3 separate regions of the Homo sapiens genome follow, and regions 2 and 3 are each linked to region 1. Evidence: promoter capture Hi-C in 16 types of primary human blood cells and fetal thymus (Javierre and others, 2016). All regions are on one chromosome and are shown on one strand. The core of a region is centred on a gene start or on the middle of the fragment in contact, and the rest is flanking DNA. Distances in the headings are between cores, read along the strand shown. Region 1 holds the start of TEAD2 (TEA domain transcription factor 2). Region 2 holds the start of RCN3 (reticulocalbin 3). Region 3 holds the start of LIN7B (lin-7 cell polarity scaffold B).

Region 1 (4,056 bases), core at 1,557-4,056:
GTGGGCTGCCGGTCCCCTCAGCTACGTGGAAGCCAGACTGCTTGGGTTCAAATCCCAGCTCCATCACGCACTGGCTCTGTGCGACCATAAGCAAATCACTTAACCTAGCTGTGCCTCAGTTTCCTCATCTGTGCAAATGGTGATGCTAGCTCCTACTTCAGAGTGCTCCATAAACCTTGGTTACTGTCATTATTCATCAGTGGGGGCCAGGGCAAAAGACAGAAGTAGACTCACCATACATCTTGCCTTCATCAGACAAAATTATTTTCCGGCGGCCGCAGGGTGGATAGATGGCCAGGGCCTCCTGGAAGCTCTGCTCAATGTCTGGGCTCCACACCCCCTCTGCATCCGGGCCCCCGTCACCCCCAGCCCCCTCACTGCCGCCGGTACCCTCCTCACTGCCTTCCTCACTGCCCGTCCAGCCGCTGCCATCGTCCAGGGCGGCCCCAGCCCGGGGTTCCCCCATCTGGGCCTGGAGGAACACAGAACTCAGCAAGCTTCCCCCAAACCCCACCCTCAAGGGACTTGAAGCTGAGAGGGCTGGGACTCTGGACCACTGGGTCTGAGGGAGGAGGGGCTGGGGACCTGGACTCCTGGGTCTGAGGGAAGAGGAGCTGGGGGGTATTCCTGGGTCTGAGGGAGGAGGATCTGGGGCCTGAACTCCTGAGTCTGAGGGAGGAGGGGCTGGGGCCCGGACTCCTAGGACTGAGGGAGGAGGATCTGGGGCCTGGACTCCTGGGTCTGAGGGAGCGGGGGCTGGAGGCCTGGACTCCTGGGTGTGAGGGAGAAGGGGCTGGGGTCTGGACTCCTGAGTCTGAGGGAGGAGAAGGAGCTGGATTTCTTGGAAAGCTGAGGATGGGAGTGTTCTCAGAGTTTCCAGAGGAACTCAATTGTGATGAAGTCACAATGATTACCCTAGAGTAATGCCGAGGGCCATGAAGGCTAAAGGTTCGGGTATGAATTACGGGTTTTAAAGAAGACAGGAGGCAAAAGTTAGTGGTGGGGAAGGAAGGTGTGGGTGAAACTTCCCCTGTCCCACCCCAAGAACAGGTGGTAAGATGTGAGCAGCAGCTGCCAGAAAAGAAGAGGGGCCAAGCAAGACTGAGGGGAGGTCTAGAGAGAGGGGGACAGAGACCCAGAGAGGGAGGGGGACAGAGACCCAGAGAGGGGATGGGGACAGAGACCAGCAAGGGGGGGGGACAGAGACCCAGAGAGAGAAGGGGACAGAGACCAGAGAGAGAGGGGGACAGAGACCAGTGAGGTGGGGATAGAGACCCAGAGACAGAGGGGGACAGAGACCAGAGAGAGAAGGGGACAGAGACCCAGTGAAGGGGGGGACAGAGACCAGTGACGGAGGGGACAGAGACCCAGAGAGAGAGGGGGACAGAGACCAGAGGGAGGGGGGGACAGAGACCAGAGGGAGGGGGGGACAGAGACCAGAGAGGGGGACAGAGACCCAGAGAGAGGGACAGAGACCCAAAAAGAGAGGGAGACAGAGACCCAGGGAGAGGGGGAGACAGAGACCAGAAAGAGGGGGACAGAGACCGGGGGGGGGGGACAGGGACCAGAGAGAGGGGTCCAGAGGCCCAGAGAGGGAGACAGAGACCCAGAGAGAGAGGGTGACAGAGACCCAGAGAGAGGGGGACAGAGACCCAGAGAGAGAGGGACAGAGACCCAGAGAGAGAGGGGACCAGAGACCCAGAGAGAGGGGGACACAGACTCAGAGAGAGGGGGACAGAGGCTCAGAGAGAGGGCAACAGAGACCCAGAGAAAGGGAGACGGAGACCTAGAAAGGGCAGGGACAGAGACTCAGGGCAGCAGCTGAGGCCGAGACCAGGAGAGACCCACAGAACCACAAGCTGGGGGACAGGGGCGCCCTGCCATCAGAAGAGCCAGAACAAAGGGCCCAGGCGTCCCCTCCCCCAGCTTCCCACAACCCCCATCAGGGGAGGGGCTTGCCGGCCAGGGCGACTCCCCTCCGGCACCGGGCCCCGCCCCTCCCCTCCCCCGTGCGCCGTGGGCTCTGATCCAACTCAAGTTCCCAGTGACTTTCCGGAGGCCGGGAACAGGGAAAACTTTTTCCAATACAGTCAGATCCCGCCTCCCCGGAGGCTCCATGTCCTCCACAGCTTTCCCAGGACCCCAGAGTCCAGGCCCCTATTCCCCTCCTCCCGCCGACCATAGCAGACAAAGACCCCAGCCAAGCCCAGTGGCGCTGCGGCGTTCAGGACCCCCGTAGGCCAAAATCCCAGCCCAGCCCTTCCCCATGTGGCCAGACAAAGGGACGGTGGAGCCGGGTAAGAAAGGTCCCCCTAATTTCCCGCCCCAGACCCTAAACCTCCAAAGAGGCAAGACTTAAGATCCAGAAAGCCCCGTAACCTCCCCTCGGCCACCCCAGAGGCCCTCCCTTCTCCGTAAGAAGGACCAAATGCCCCCCAGATTACACAAGGGGTCCTTCTCACTCCAAAGTGACACCGCCGCAGACGCACGCCCCACACCCCGCCAGCGCCCTTGGCCCGCACCCGCTCCTGCGCGCACGCCCAAACTCAGACCCAGCCGCAGGCACCCTAACTCCGGCCAGAGTTCCCACTCCTCACTGAGGCTCGGTCACGGGAGCAAATTCGGGCCCCCGGGCAAAAAGAGGGCTGCGAACCATTCAGAGACGGTCCCGCAAACGCACGCCTCACCTCCTAAGAAGCAACTCCCCACCCCAACTCACACACCCCAAAGCAGGATCCCCGACTCCCGCCGGCGCCTTCCTACCTCCCGGCCTGGGGCTGGGGAGCCGCGGGCGGGCGGGGCGCTGCGAGGGAGAAAGTTGCCGGGAGCTTTGTTTGGGAAAAGTGGGAGGGACCGGAGGGGGGGGCGGGCCCGGCCGGCGGACAGCGGGAAGGGGGATCCGACGGTGACAGTTTGGGGAAGGATTTTTGCTTTGGGAGAGATTAGTCTATCTCGGGGCTGGTAGGAACTCAGGATTTGGGTGCTTGGGAAAGGAGGGGGATTGGGGGTTCGGACTCCAAGTCGGAGGGAAAAGGCTGATAGGAGCCAGAAACCCCTGATCTGAGGGAGGAGAGGCTGGGGGCTGGGACTCCTGGGTCTGGGGGCTGGGACTCCTGGGTCTGGGAGAGGAAGCGGCTGGAGAGAGATATGGGCTCCTAGGTCTGAGAGGGGACGGGGCTAGGCGCCTGGAATCCCGGCTACCCTCGTGTTTGTGTATTGGGGGTGCGGAAGTGATACGAATACAAAGAGTCTTTACTGTTAAGCCCTGAGGTTTTTTTTCTTTTTTTCTGTTTGGTTTTTGGTTTTTTTGTTTTTTGTTTTTTTTGTTTTTTTTTTTTTTTGAGGATTGGGGTCTGGGGATGGGTTTTGACTGATTCCTATGACGACCTGGTTTCCTTGTGACCTCACCACAGTTAAGAGTCGTGGGCAGGACCACCGGGAGTTTATTGGAGGCCCACGTAGGTGCAGATTCCTCATCTACAGGCGCTAGTGGACTGGAGACGGCTGGCGGCTGTCCCGGGACGGGGAAGAGAGCTTTGGTGCCTGAGGGAAGATGGCTTAGGGCCCGGTCCCTTAAGGGTGAAAGGCTGCGTGTTCAAAATTACGGGACTAGAGGGGGCGGGAGTCCGGACCTGAGGTCCTCAGGGAAAAGGAAGTCTGATTCTGGGTTCCTTGGAAGATGAAATATAAGACTGGATTTAGGGTTTCCGGAGACAACGGGACTTTTTAGTGGAGCGGGAGCGGGAAAACCAGAAGGGACACGGAGAAAAGGTTCCGAAACAGATACACAATTAGAGTGAGAGCTAAAAGGGATGCTTGTACTCCGGTGTCTCCAGTAGGAGGAGCCTAGGACTGGAACTTGGGGTGATGAGGGCAAGATCTGGGACGCAGGGGCGTGGTCCAGTGCAGGGGCGTGGCCCAGTGCAGGGGCGTGGCTTTCAGCCAAGGGGCGTGGCCATTGCGATTGGGCGGGACTCCGAAACGAGGGCCGCAATCAGAGAACACCGCCAGGACTTCCAGGACTTGGTCTCCAGGACTGAGGTCAACTGACGTGGG
Region 2 (4,563 bases), core at 603-3,102, 170 kb after region 1:
GTAGTCAGGCCCCTTTCATGCTGTGAGACCTCCTGGAACACTGGCATCTCTGAGCCTCCAGAAGGGGTTCTGGGCCTAGTTGTCCTCCCTCTGGAGCCCCGTCCTGTGGTCTGCCTCAGTTTCCCCTCCTAATACATATGGCTGTTTTCCACCTCGATAATATAACACGAGTTTGGGCCCGAATCAGTGTGTTCTCATCATTTTTCAGGCAGGGGAGGTAAGGGAATAAGTCGGGGGACTGAATGGCGGCTGGGCCTCGGATCTCTCCTACAGGTAACATGCTGCCACAGGGGAACCTGCCAGTTTTATACATCAGGTCATGTATTTTCTTTTTCTTTTTCTTTTTTCTTTTTTTTTAGACGGAGTCTTGCTCTGTTGCTCAGTCCGGAGTCCTGTGGCGCGATCTCGGCTCACTGTAAGCTCCGCCTCCCTGGGTTCACGCCATTCTCCTGCCTCAGGCTCCCGAGTAGCTGGGACTACAGGCGCCTGCCACCATGCCTGGCTAATTTTTTGTATTTTTAGTACAGACGGGGTTTCACCATGTTAGCCAGGATGGTCTCGATCTCCTGACCTCATGATCCACCCGCCTCTGCCTCCCAAAGGGGTGGGATTACAAGTGTGAGCCACCGCGCCCGGCCTAAGGTCACTTTTTTTTTTTTTTTTTAAGACAGAGTTTTGCTCTTGTTGCTCAGACTGGAGTACAATTGCGTGATCTCAGCTCACTGCAACCTCCGCCTCCCAGGTTCAAGCAATTCTCCTGCCTCCCAAGTAGCTGGGATTACAGGCATGCACCACCACACCCGGCTAATTTTTTGTATTTAGTAGAGACGGGGTTTCACCATGTTGGTCAGGCTGGTCTGGAACTCCTGACCTCAGGTGATCCACCTGCCTCAGCTTCCCAAAGTTCTGGGATTACAGGCATTGAGCTACTGTGCTCAACCTGAGGTCATGTATTTTTAATTCATAACTTTTACAAATATTTACTGGATGACTGCCATGCCAGGCATTTTGAGGAATTCTTGGCTACTGTCTGACCACCTGAATCCTTGGAGCCGAAGAGGAGCGAGGAGCAGTGTTCACTCTTGGAGGAAATGGGATATTTCCTCCGGCCCCTTGATTCTGCTCTCCCTTTTCTTTTCTTTTCTTTTCTTTCTTTTTTTTTTTGAGACGGAGTTTCGCTCTTGTTGCCCAGGCTGGAATGCAATGGTGCGATCTCGGCTCACCACAACCTCCGCCTCCCAGGTTCAAGCAATTCTCCTGCCTCAGCCTCCCAAAGTAGCTGGGATTAAAGACATGCGCCACCACACCCGGCTAATTTTGTATGTTTAGTAGAGATGGGGTTTCTCCGTGTTGATCAGGCTGGTCTCGAACTCCCGACCTCAGGCGATCCGCCCGCCTCGGCCTCCCAAAGTTCTGGGATTACAGGCGTGAGCCACCGCGCCCGGCCTTTTTTCTTTTCTTTCGTTCTTTTTGTTTATTTTTGTTTTGTTTTGTTTTGTTTGGTATAGAAGTGTTGGAACGTACACCTCTTTCTTAAACCATCCTGACAAAGGGAAAGGGAAAAATACATTTCCCGTGAGGCGTTGTGACTAGAACAGCTGGAGGTGGACGGCAGAGTGCCGCGACGACTGCCAGGAGTTGTAGTTCTCCCCGGCCGCGTCACTGCGGTGTCGCCCACCCTTCTTCCCCGGGCAGGCCGCGGTTTCCTTTGTGGACGTGGCGAGGAGTGCCCGCGGCACCCCGTGCACTCATTGGCCCCGCCCCGTGAGACGCTCGTGCGAGCTCATTGGGCGGGGGGCGGGGCTCTGCGCTGCCAGAGGCGGGGCCTGACTGGAGAGCGGCCGAATTGGGCACATTTGCGGGAACGCAGAGCGGAGCGTGGAGAGCGGAGCGAAGCTGGATAACAGGGTAAAGGGAGTGGGTGGGGGGCCTCTGTCCAGGGAGGGCGGCTCGGGTCGAGGACCAGGGTCCGGACTGGGAGCAATGACGGGGAGCCTGCCTGACCTCTCGCTGGCCACAACTATGCCCTGCACCTTGCGTGGGATGTGCGCCACGTCTGTCTCTGTAATTCCCCCTGGCAGGTCTGGGACCCCCCTGAGACTCCGTCAGAAGATTCGGTCCTCCCCATAGGTGGCTTTACCTCTAAGCATCCCGCCCTCTTTTCCCCCATCGCCCGCCCTTTTTGAGCCCGAAAGCTTGCAGCCAACTTCCAACTCCCTGTCCTGTCCTAGGTAACCCCTCCACCCCGCCATTCTCCTATCCCGTGTCTGTCCCCATCCCTGTGACCCCTGACCCCTGGCCTTTGCCACTCCCCAGGGACCGATGATGTGGCGACCATCAGTTCTGCTGCTTCTGTTGCTACTGAGGCACGGGGCCCAGGGGAAGCCATCCCCAGACGCAGGCCCTCATGGCCAGGGGAGGGTGCACCAGGCGGCCCCCCTGAGCGACGCTCCCCATGATGACGCCCACGGGAACTTCCAGTACGACCATGAGGCTTTCCTGGGACGGGAAGTGGCCAAGGAATTCGACCAACTCACCCCAGAGGAAAGCCAGGCCCGTCTGGGGTAAGAGAGACATTCGGTTGGGGCGTGTCCAGAGGTGGGGCTTAGGAGAGAGACGCGGGGGTATCGACAGGGGTCAGAGAAATGGCGTGGACTGAACTTCATTTCTTTGTGAGAAATGAAATTCTACCTTCTATCCTTGGGAAAAAGAAATTAAGTTAAAATTGAGGCCTAAAGAGGACCTTTGAGACCGGGCGTGGTGGCTCATGCCTGTAATCCCAGCACTTTGGGAGGCCAAGGCAGGCCGATCACTTGAGGTCAGGAGTTCGAGAACAGCCTGGCCAACATGGTGAAATCCCGTCTCTACTAAAAATACAAAATTAGGCAGGCGTGGTGGTGGGCACCTGTAATCCCAGCTACTCGGGAGGCTGAGGCAGGAGAATCGCTTGAACCTGGGAGGTGGAGGTTGCAGTGAGCCAAAATTGCACCACTGCCCTCCAGTCAGGGCGACAAAGTGAGACTCCGTCTAAAAAACAACAACAACAATAAAAAAGAGGACCTTTGAGGGCAGCAAAATCTGGGTTAGATTCTGCCCCCTAAGCGCTCCTTATTCTTTTGTCCCAGACATCTCCCCTCCCCAAGCCTCAGTTTCCTGCTCTGTAAATGGCAGGGACTGGTGTGGAAAATGAGGTTTGGCCTTTAAGGAGCCCGGCCAGTGCAGGAGAGTGGCAGAGCCCTGAGTTTCAGGGTGAGCTGGGTGGAATGGAGCCCTGTCCACCCTCTCCGTCCAGGCCTGAGCGCAGGGGGGCGCGATGGGAGCAGCCGCCTTCTTCTGTGCATCCTCCTGACACTGATTGAGCCTGCAAAGGTTTATCGAGCACCTGCTATGTGCCAGGCACTGCTCTAGGTGCTGAAGTCACAACAGCTAACACATCTGTCCTCCTGAAGTTTACACTGTGGTGAGGGAAACAGCAAGAAGTCAATAAGTAGAAAGTGGATCAAATAGAGATAAATGCATCCAAGAAAGATAAAGCAAGAGAGTCAGAAAGTGTGGAGGGGAGAGGTTGTTGGTGGGGGGGAGTTGCAATTTTTATTTATTTATTTATTTATTTATTTACTTATTGAGATGGAGTCTCGCTCTGTCACCCAGGCTGGAGTGCAGTGGTGCGATCTCGGCTCACTGCAACCTCCACCTCCTGGGCTCAAGCAATTGTCCTGTCTCAGCCTCCCAAGTAGCTGGGATTACAGGCGCTAGCCACCACGCCCAGCTAATTTTGTATTTTTATTTTTTATTTTTATTTTTGTTGTTGTTGTTTTTGAGATGGAGTCTCGCTCTGTCACCCAGGCTGGAGTGCAGTGACGTGATCTCGGCTCAGTGGAACCTCCGCCTCCCGGGTTCAACCAGTTGTTCTGCCTCGTACTCCCTAGTAGCTAGAGTCCTAGCTACAAGTGAACGCTACAAGTCCTAGCTACAAGTGAACGCCTCCACATCCAGCAAAGTTTTTTTTCTTTCCTTTTTTTTTTTTGGAGACAGAGTGAGACTCTGTCTCCCGGGCTAGAGTGCAGTGGCGTGATCTCAGCTCATGCAACCTCTGCCTCCCAGGTTCAAGCAATTCTCCTGCCTCAGCCTTCCGAGTAGCTGGGACTATGGGTGCACGCCCACACGCCCAGCTAATTTTTTTTTTTTTTTTTGTATTTTAGTAGAGATGGGGTTTCACTGTGTTGCCCAGGCTGGTCTCGAGCTCCTGAGCTCAGGCAATCCGCCCGCCTTGGCCTCCCAAAGTGCTGGAATTAATGCGTGAGCCACAGCACCCAGCCCAGGCCCAGGTAATTTTTCTTTTTTTTCTTTTTTTTTTTTTTTTGAGACGGAGTTTTGCTCTTGTTGCCCAGGCTGGAGTGCAGTGGCGCAATCTCGGCTCACCACAACCTCCGCCTCCTGGGTTCAAGTGATTCTCCTGCCTCAGCCTTCCGAGTAGCTGGGATTACAGGCATGCACCACCATGCCCGGCTAATTTTGTATTTTTAGTAGAGATGGGGTTTCTCCATGTTGGTCAGGCTGGTA
Region 3 (4,683 bases), core at 2,074-4,573, 250 kb before region 1:
AAAAAAAAAAATCTGGAATCTAACAAAAAGTTAAATGGCAATTCTAGAACTAGAAAACACAAGTGAAATTAAGAATTAAGTAGGTGGTGGCCAGGCATGGTGGCTCTGTAAACTCAACACTTTGGGAAGCCAAGGTGGGAGGATCACTTGAGCCCAGGAGATGGAGACCAGCCTGGGCAACATCGCAAAAGCCTGGTCTCTACAAAAAATACAAAAATTAGCCAAACGTGGTGGCGTGCGCCTATGGTCCCAGATAGGAGGCTGAGGTGGAAGGATTACCTGAGCCCAGGGAGGTAAAGGCTGCAGTGAGCCATGATTGCACAACTGCTCTTCAGCCTGGGCAACAAAGTGAGACCCTGTAACGACAACAACAACAAAACACACACACACACACACACACACACACACATATATATGTATATATAGAGAGAGAAATAGCATGTTACTTAGACACAGAAGCAGCTCTCAGACTAAACATCTGTAAGTTCCCTCTCACAGTGAGTAGAGTTAGGAGAGGTAGAGGCTGGTGCTTTTCACTATTATTAGCCTGTCTGTGTTATTTGATTTTGTTTTTAATCCCATAAAGACATTACTTTTTGCTAAAGAGAGAGCTACAGTGAAGGAGACAGCCAGACAAACCTGCTCTAGTCCTCCCACTTGGAACAAGCACTTTTCTGGACTCCATATCGCCACCCAGCAGAACCAGAAGAGCAGCCAACTTTCTCCAAAGTCTTGTCCACATCTCCTCGGCCTCTCTAGAGCATGATACCACTGACCACTTCCTTTTTTTATTTTTTATTTATTTATTTAATTTTCCAAGATGGAGTTTCGCTCTTATTTCCCAGGCTGGAGTGTAATGGCACGATCTCGGCTCACTACAACCTCCACCTCCTGGGTTCAAGCTATTCTCCTGCCTCAGCCTCCCAAATAGCTGGGATTACAGGCACCCGCCACCACGCCCAGCTAATTTTTTGTATTTTTAGGAGAGATGGGGTTTCATGAAGTTGGCCAGGCTGGTCTCAAACTCCTGACCTCAGGTGATCCGCCCGCCTCAGCCTCCCAAAATGCTTACAGGCGTGACCACCACACCTGGCCTCACTTTTTTTGTTTGTTTGTTTGTTTGAGACGGAGTTTCGCTGTTTTTCCCAAAGCTGGAATGCAATGGCATGATCTCCGCTCACCGCAACCTCCGCCTCTTGGGTTCAAGCAGTTCTCCTGCCTCAGCCTCCCCAGTAGTTGGGATTACAGGCATGCACCACCATGCCTGGCTACTTTTGTATTTTTAGTACAGACAGGGTTTCTCCATGTGGTCAGGCTGGTCTCCTGACCTCAGGCGATCCACCCGCCTCGGCCCCCCAAAGTGCTGGGATTCCAGGCGTGAGCCACCATGCCCAGCCACACTTCTTTTTAAAAACACTCGCAGCCAGACACAGCGGTTCGTGCCTGTAAACTCAGCACTTTGGGAGGCCAAGGCAGGGGGATTGTTTGAGCCCAGGAGTTCAAGACCAGCCTGAGCAACAAAGACCCCTCCATCTAAAACAAACAAAAAAAGAAGATAAAATTTAAAAACCCCTCTTCTCATGGTTTCTCCCACCTGGGTTTCTGCCTACATTTCAGGCCATTCTCTGCTGTCCTCCTGACTTTTAAGTGTTAGAGAGGTCTGGGGACCAGTTCTAGGCCGTCTTAATATTCGCTTGCCCCTGACATTCTTATCCACTCCGGTGGTTTTATTTACCACCTATGCCCCAATATTCAAACATGCCTGCAGACCAGGTTGCTCTTTTGAGCCCTAGACCTAGATCGATAGTTTCTCCCCATGGATTCTGCATAGGCTCCTCAAATTCAAAATATCCAGTATCGGCCAGGCAAGGTGGCTCGCGCCTGTAATCCCAGCACTTTGGGAGGCTGAGGCAGGTGGATCACTTGAGGTCAGGAGTTCGAGACCAGCCTGGCCATCATGGTGAAACCCCATCTCTATGAAAAATACAAAAATTTGGCAGGTGTGGAGGTGCACACCTGTACTCTCAGCTACTCAGGAGGCTGAGGCAGGAGAATTGCTTGCACCCGGGAGGCAGAGGTTGCAATGAGCCGAGATCACGCCACTGCACTCGAGACTGGGCAACAGAGGGAAGACTGTGTCTCAAAAACAAAATATCCAGTATCCCTCTTTCAGTGTAGACCATCTTAAAAATGGCACCAAAGCACCTTAATACTGTCTTCTCCTGCACCTCCCAATCCCCTTATATAGCCAAGCACCAAGGCTTGTCTAGACATTTCCCACATCTGCCCACCCATCTTCTGTGCTTTGGCCCTGGTGCTAGCTGCCACCTGGATGGCTGTGGTAGCCTCGTAAGTTGCCCCGCTGCTTCTCCTCTTGTTCTTGTCCAAACCAGTCTCCACAGTGGCTACAGTGATTTTTTTTTTTTCAATAGATACGAGGTCTCACTATATTGCCTATGCTGGTCTTGAACTCCTGGGCTCAAGTAGTCTTGCTGCAGCCTCCCAAAGCGCTAGGATTACAGGTGTGAGCCACCGTGCCCGGCCCCAGTGATCTTAAAATACAAATTTGAGGCCCAACCTGGGCGACAGAGCGAGGCTCCGTCTCAAAAATAATAATAATAATAATATAATAATAATACAAATTTGAGTGTCATATTTTTCTCTTAGGAGTTTGCATGAAGCCCCAAATCCTCAAGGCGCATATGCCAACGCAGGAGCCCAGGCATAAACTATCCTGCCGACCTTTTCACCTCATCATCAACCAATCCTAACTCTGCTTCCAGCCACGTGGGCTCTTTCTGGGTGGTGGGGGTGACCCAAGCTCCACCTCTTGTTCATCTTACCTCCCAGGACTGTATGTCAATGTCCCTCCTCTAGGATTTCCTTCGTTTTCTAGATCATCACCTCCCCACTCTCAGCTCTCATCACAGCCGTAGTTGGTCGTCTACCTCCCCTATAGACTGGAAGCTTCGTTCGGGCCGTGGGCTTGGCTGTCCTGCTCACCACGGTGTCCATGACTTGGGCTCAGATGTTTCACAAGAGTTTGTTGAATGAATGTGGGGAAAGGATGGACAGGGGATAGACGGGTGTGGAGGGCAGGCAGACACGGATCCTGAAAGGTACACACAGACCGAACCTGCAGTGGGAGGGGTCGCCAACAGGACCGACTGGCCGGGGCGGAGGGCAGGGCGCGGCTGGCGCGCGGCAGGTGGTCGGAGCAGTCGGGCGAGGGAGAGCTGGGCGCTCTCCAGGCTGCGCCTCCGCAGGGGGCGCCCGTGGCCCGGGGCGTGGCCTCGCGCAGCCCCGCCCTCCTCGCCGGCGCCAGGGCAGGCGGGCGGCTGGCAGCTGTGGCGCCGACATGGCTGCGCTGGTGGAGCCGCTGGGGCTGGAGCGGGGTAAGCGTGCGCCAGGGGGCCCTGCCCACCCGGGCCGCGGCCTACATACCCAGCCCCCGGTCCCCGCCCTTCCCGGGTCAGGCCAGTGCGGGTGGGCCAGCGGACCCGGAGGGGGTGGGCGGGGCGGGCGCCGGGGCCGGGCGGTCGCTAGGTGTGGGAGGCTCCCTGGGCGCGGGCCGGGACGCTGGGCGCCCGCCTTACAACCCGGCCTGTGGAGGGGTCCCGGGGCCGCAGGGCCGCTGGTGGCAGTCTCTCCTGCGCCACCCTGGACTCTGCGGGGTGTCCGACTAGGCTTCGGCCGTCCTCCCCGGACTGTGCGCTCGGCCTCACTCCGCCGCTCTCCTTGCTTCTCTGCGTCTCGGGGTCTCTGACACTCGGGGTTTCTGCGCCCCGCCCCCGCCCCGCAGACGTGTCCCGGGCGGTTGAGCTCCTCGAGCGGCTCCAGCGCAGCGGGGAGCTGCCGCCGCAGAAGCTGCAGGCCCTCCAGCGAGTTCTGCAGAGCCGCTTCTGCTCCGCTATCCGAGAGGTGAGGGGCGCGCGGCGCAGGGGCGCGAGCTGGTGGCCGTCGTCCTCCTCCTCCTCCTCCTGCTTGTCCCGAGCCCGGAGACTACGCCTCCCGGCAGCTCCCGAGGCGGCCCGCCTTGGGGTGCCAACGCTTCAGCTCAGGGGTTCTTCGGGAGTTGTAGTTTTCTCGGCCTTCTGTTGCGGGGGCGGGGCGGATCCTTGCGTGGTAGCGGGAGAGGGTCTAGAGGCCTGAACTCCTGCGTCTAGGGCTGGAGGAGCTGGCGACTCCCTGATGCCGCTGCCTCCTCACCCAGGTGTATGAGCAGCTTTATGACACGCTGGACATCACCGGCAGCGCCGAGATCCGAGCCCATGCCACAGCCAAGGTGGGCCCCGCACCCCATTGCTCCTGGTGTCTATTTAACTGCCTAGTCGAACTCAATATCTCCTTCATGCCAGTCATTTCTGTTTCCTCCCTCATGATTTTTGCTAAATCTATGTGCCACCTTACTATTAGTAAATAATCGCACATTTTTAACTTAAATGTCATACTAAGGCATCTTTAGCAACTGCAAATGGAAACAGTATGGCATGGTTGGTAGAAGATAACCTTCAACATCTGTACAGTGCAAACCAGGAAACTCATGGCGCTCTGACCTCTCACTGCACAATAGTTAGATGCTGCTACCTCTTGCTGCTGTCCGGAGGCTCAGATCTCCCTCCAGGCCTGGCTTTCCTCTGTTTAAAAGTAAGATTGAGGCCAGGCACGGTGGCTCACGCCTGT

Evidence for each region. Contacts are between HindIII fragments. The CHiCAGO score rates a contact against its expected background, and 5 or more counts as called.
Region 2: the fragment with the promoter of RCN3 here is called in contact with the fragment with the promoter of TEAD2 in region 1 in 7 of 17 cell types (total B cells, non-activated CD4 T cells, total CD8 T cells and 4 more); the score reaches 6.4 in total B cells.
Region 3: the fragment with the promoter of LIN7B here is called in contact with the fragment with the promoter of TEAD2 in region 1 in 10 of 17 cell types (total B cells, naive CD8 T cells, naive CD4 T cells and 7 more); the score reaches 10.6 in total B cells.

Annotation. Positions count from the first base shown.
Region 1 is chr19:49,359,610-49,363,665 of GRCh38, forward strand. It overlaps TEAD2 (TEA domain transcription factor 2), which reads right to left and starts at 2,807. Exons shown (of 13, transcript NM_001256660.2): 1 at 2,724-2,807; 2 at 235-472. The coding sequence starts at 466. It also overlaps a transcript of DKKL1 not described here. RefSeq lists enhancers at 136-636, 1,182-1,891, 1,892-2,600. The HindIII fragment of the contact is 6,430 bases long and covers 496-4,056 here.
Region 2 is chr19:49,526,151-49,530,713 of GRCh38, forward strand. It overlaps RCN3 (reticulocalbin 3), which reads left to right and starts at 1,853. Exons shown (of 7, transcript NM_020650.3): 1 at 1,853-1,908; 2 at 2,317-2,564. The coding sequence starts at 2,323. It overlaps FCGRT (Fc gamma receptor and transporter), which reads left to right. Exons shown (of 7, transcript NM_001136019.3): 7 at 1-278. RefSeq lists an enhancer at 1,769-2,347 and a silencer at 1,811-1,930. The HindIII fragment of the contact is 8,718 bases long and covers 1-2,193 here.
Region 3 is chr19:49,111,047-49,115,729 of GRCh38, forward strand. LIN7B (lin-7 cell polarity scaffold B) reads left to right here and starts at 3,324. Exons shown (of 6, transcript NM_022165.3): 1 at 3,324-3,395; 2 at 3,803-3,921; 3 at 4,214-4,285. The coding sequence starts at 3,359. RefSeq lists a silencer at 3,144-3,723. The HindIII fragment of the contact is 9,910 bases long and covers 2,966-4,683 here.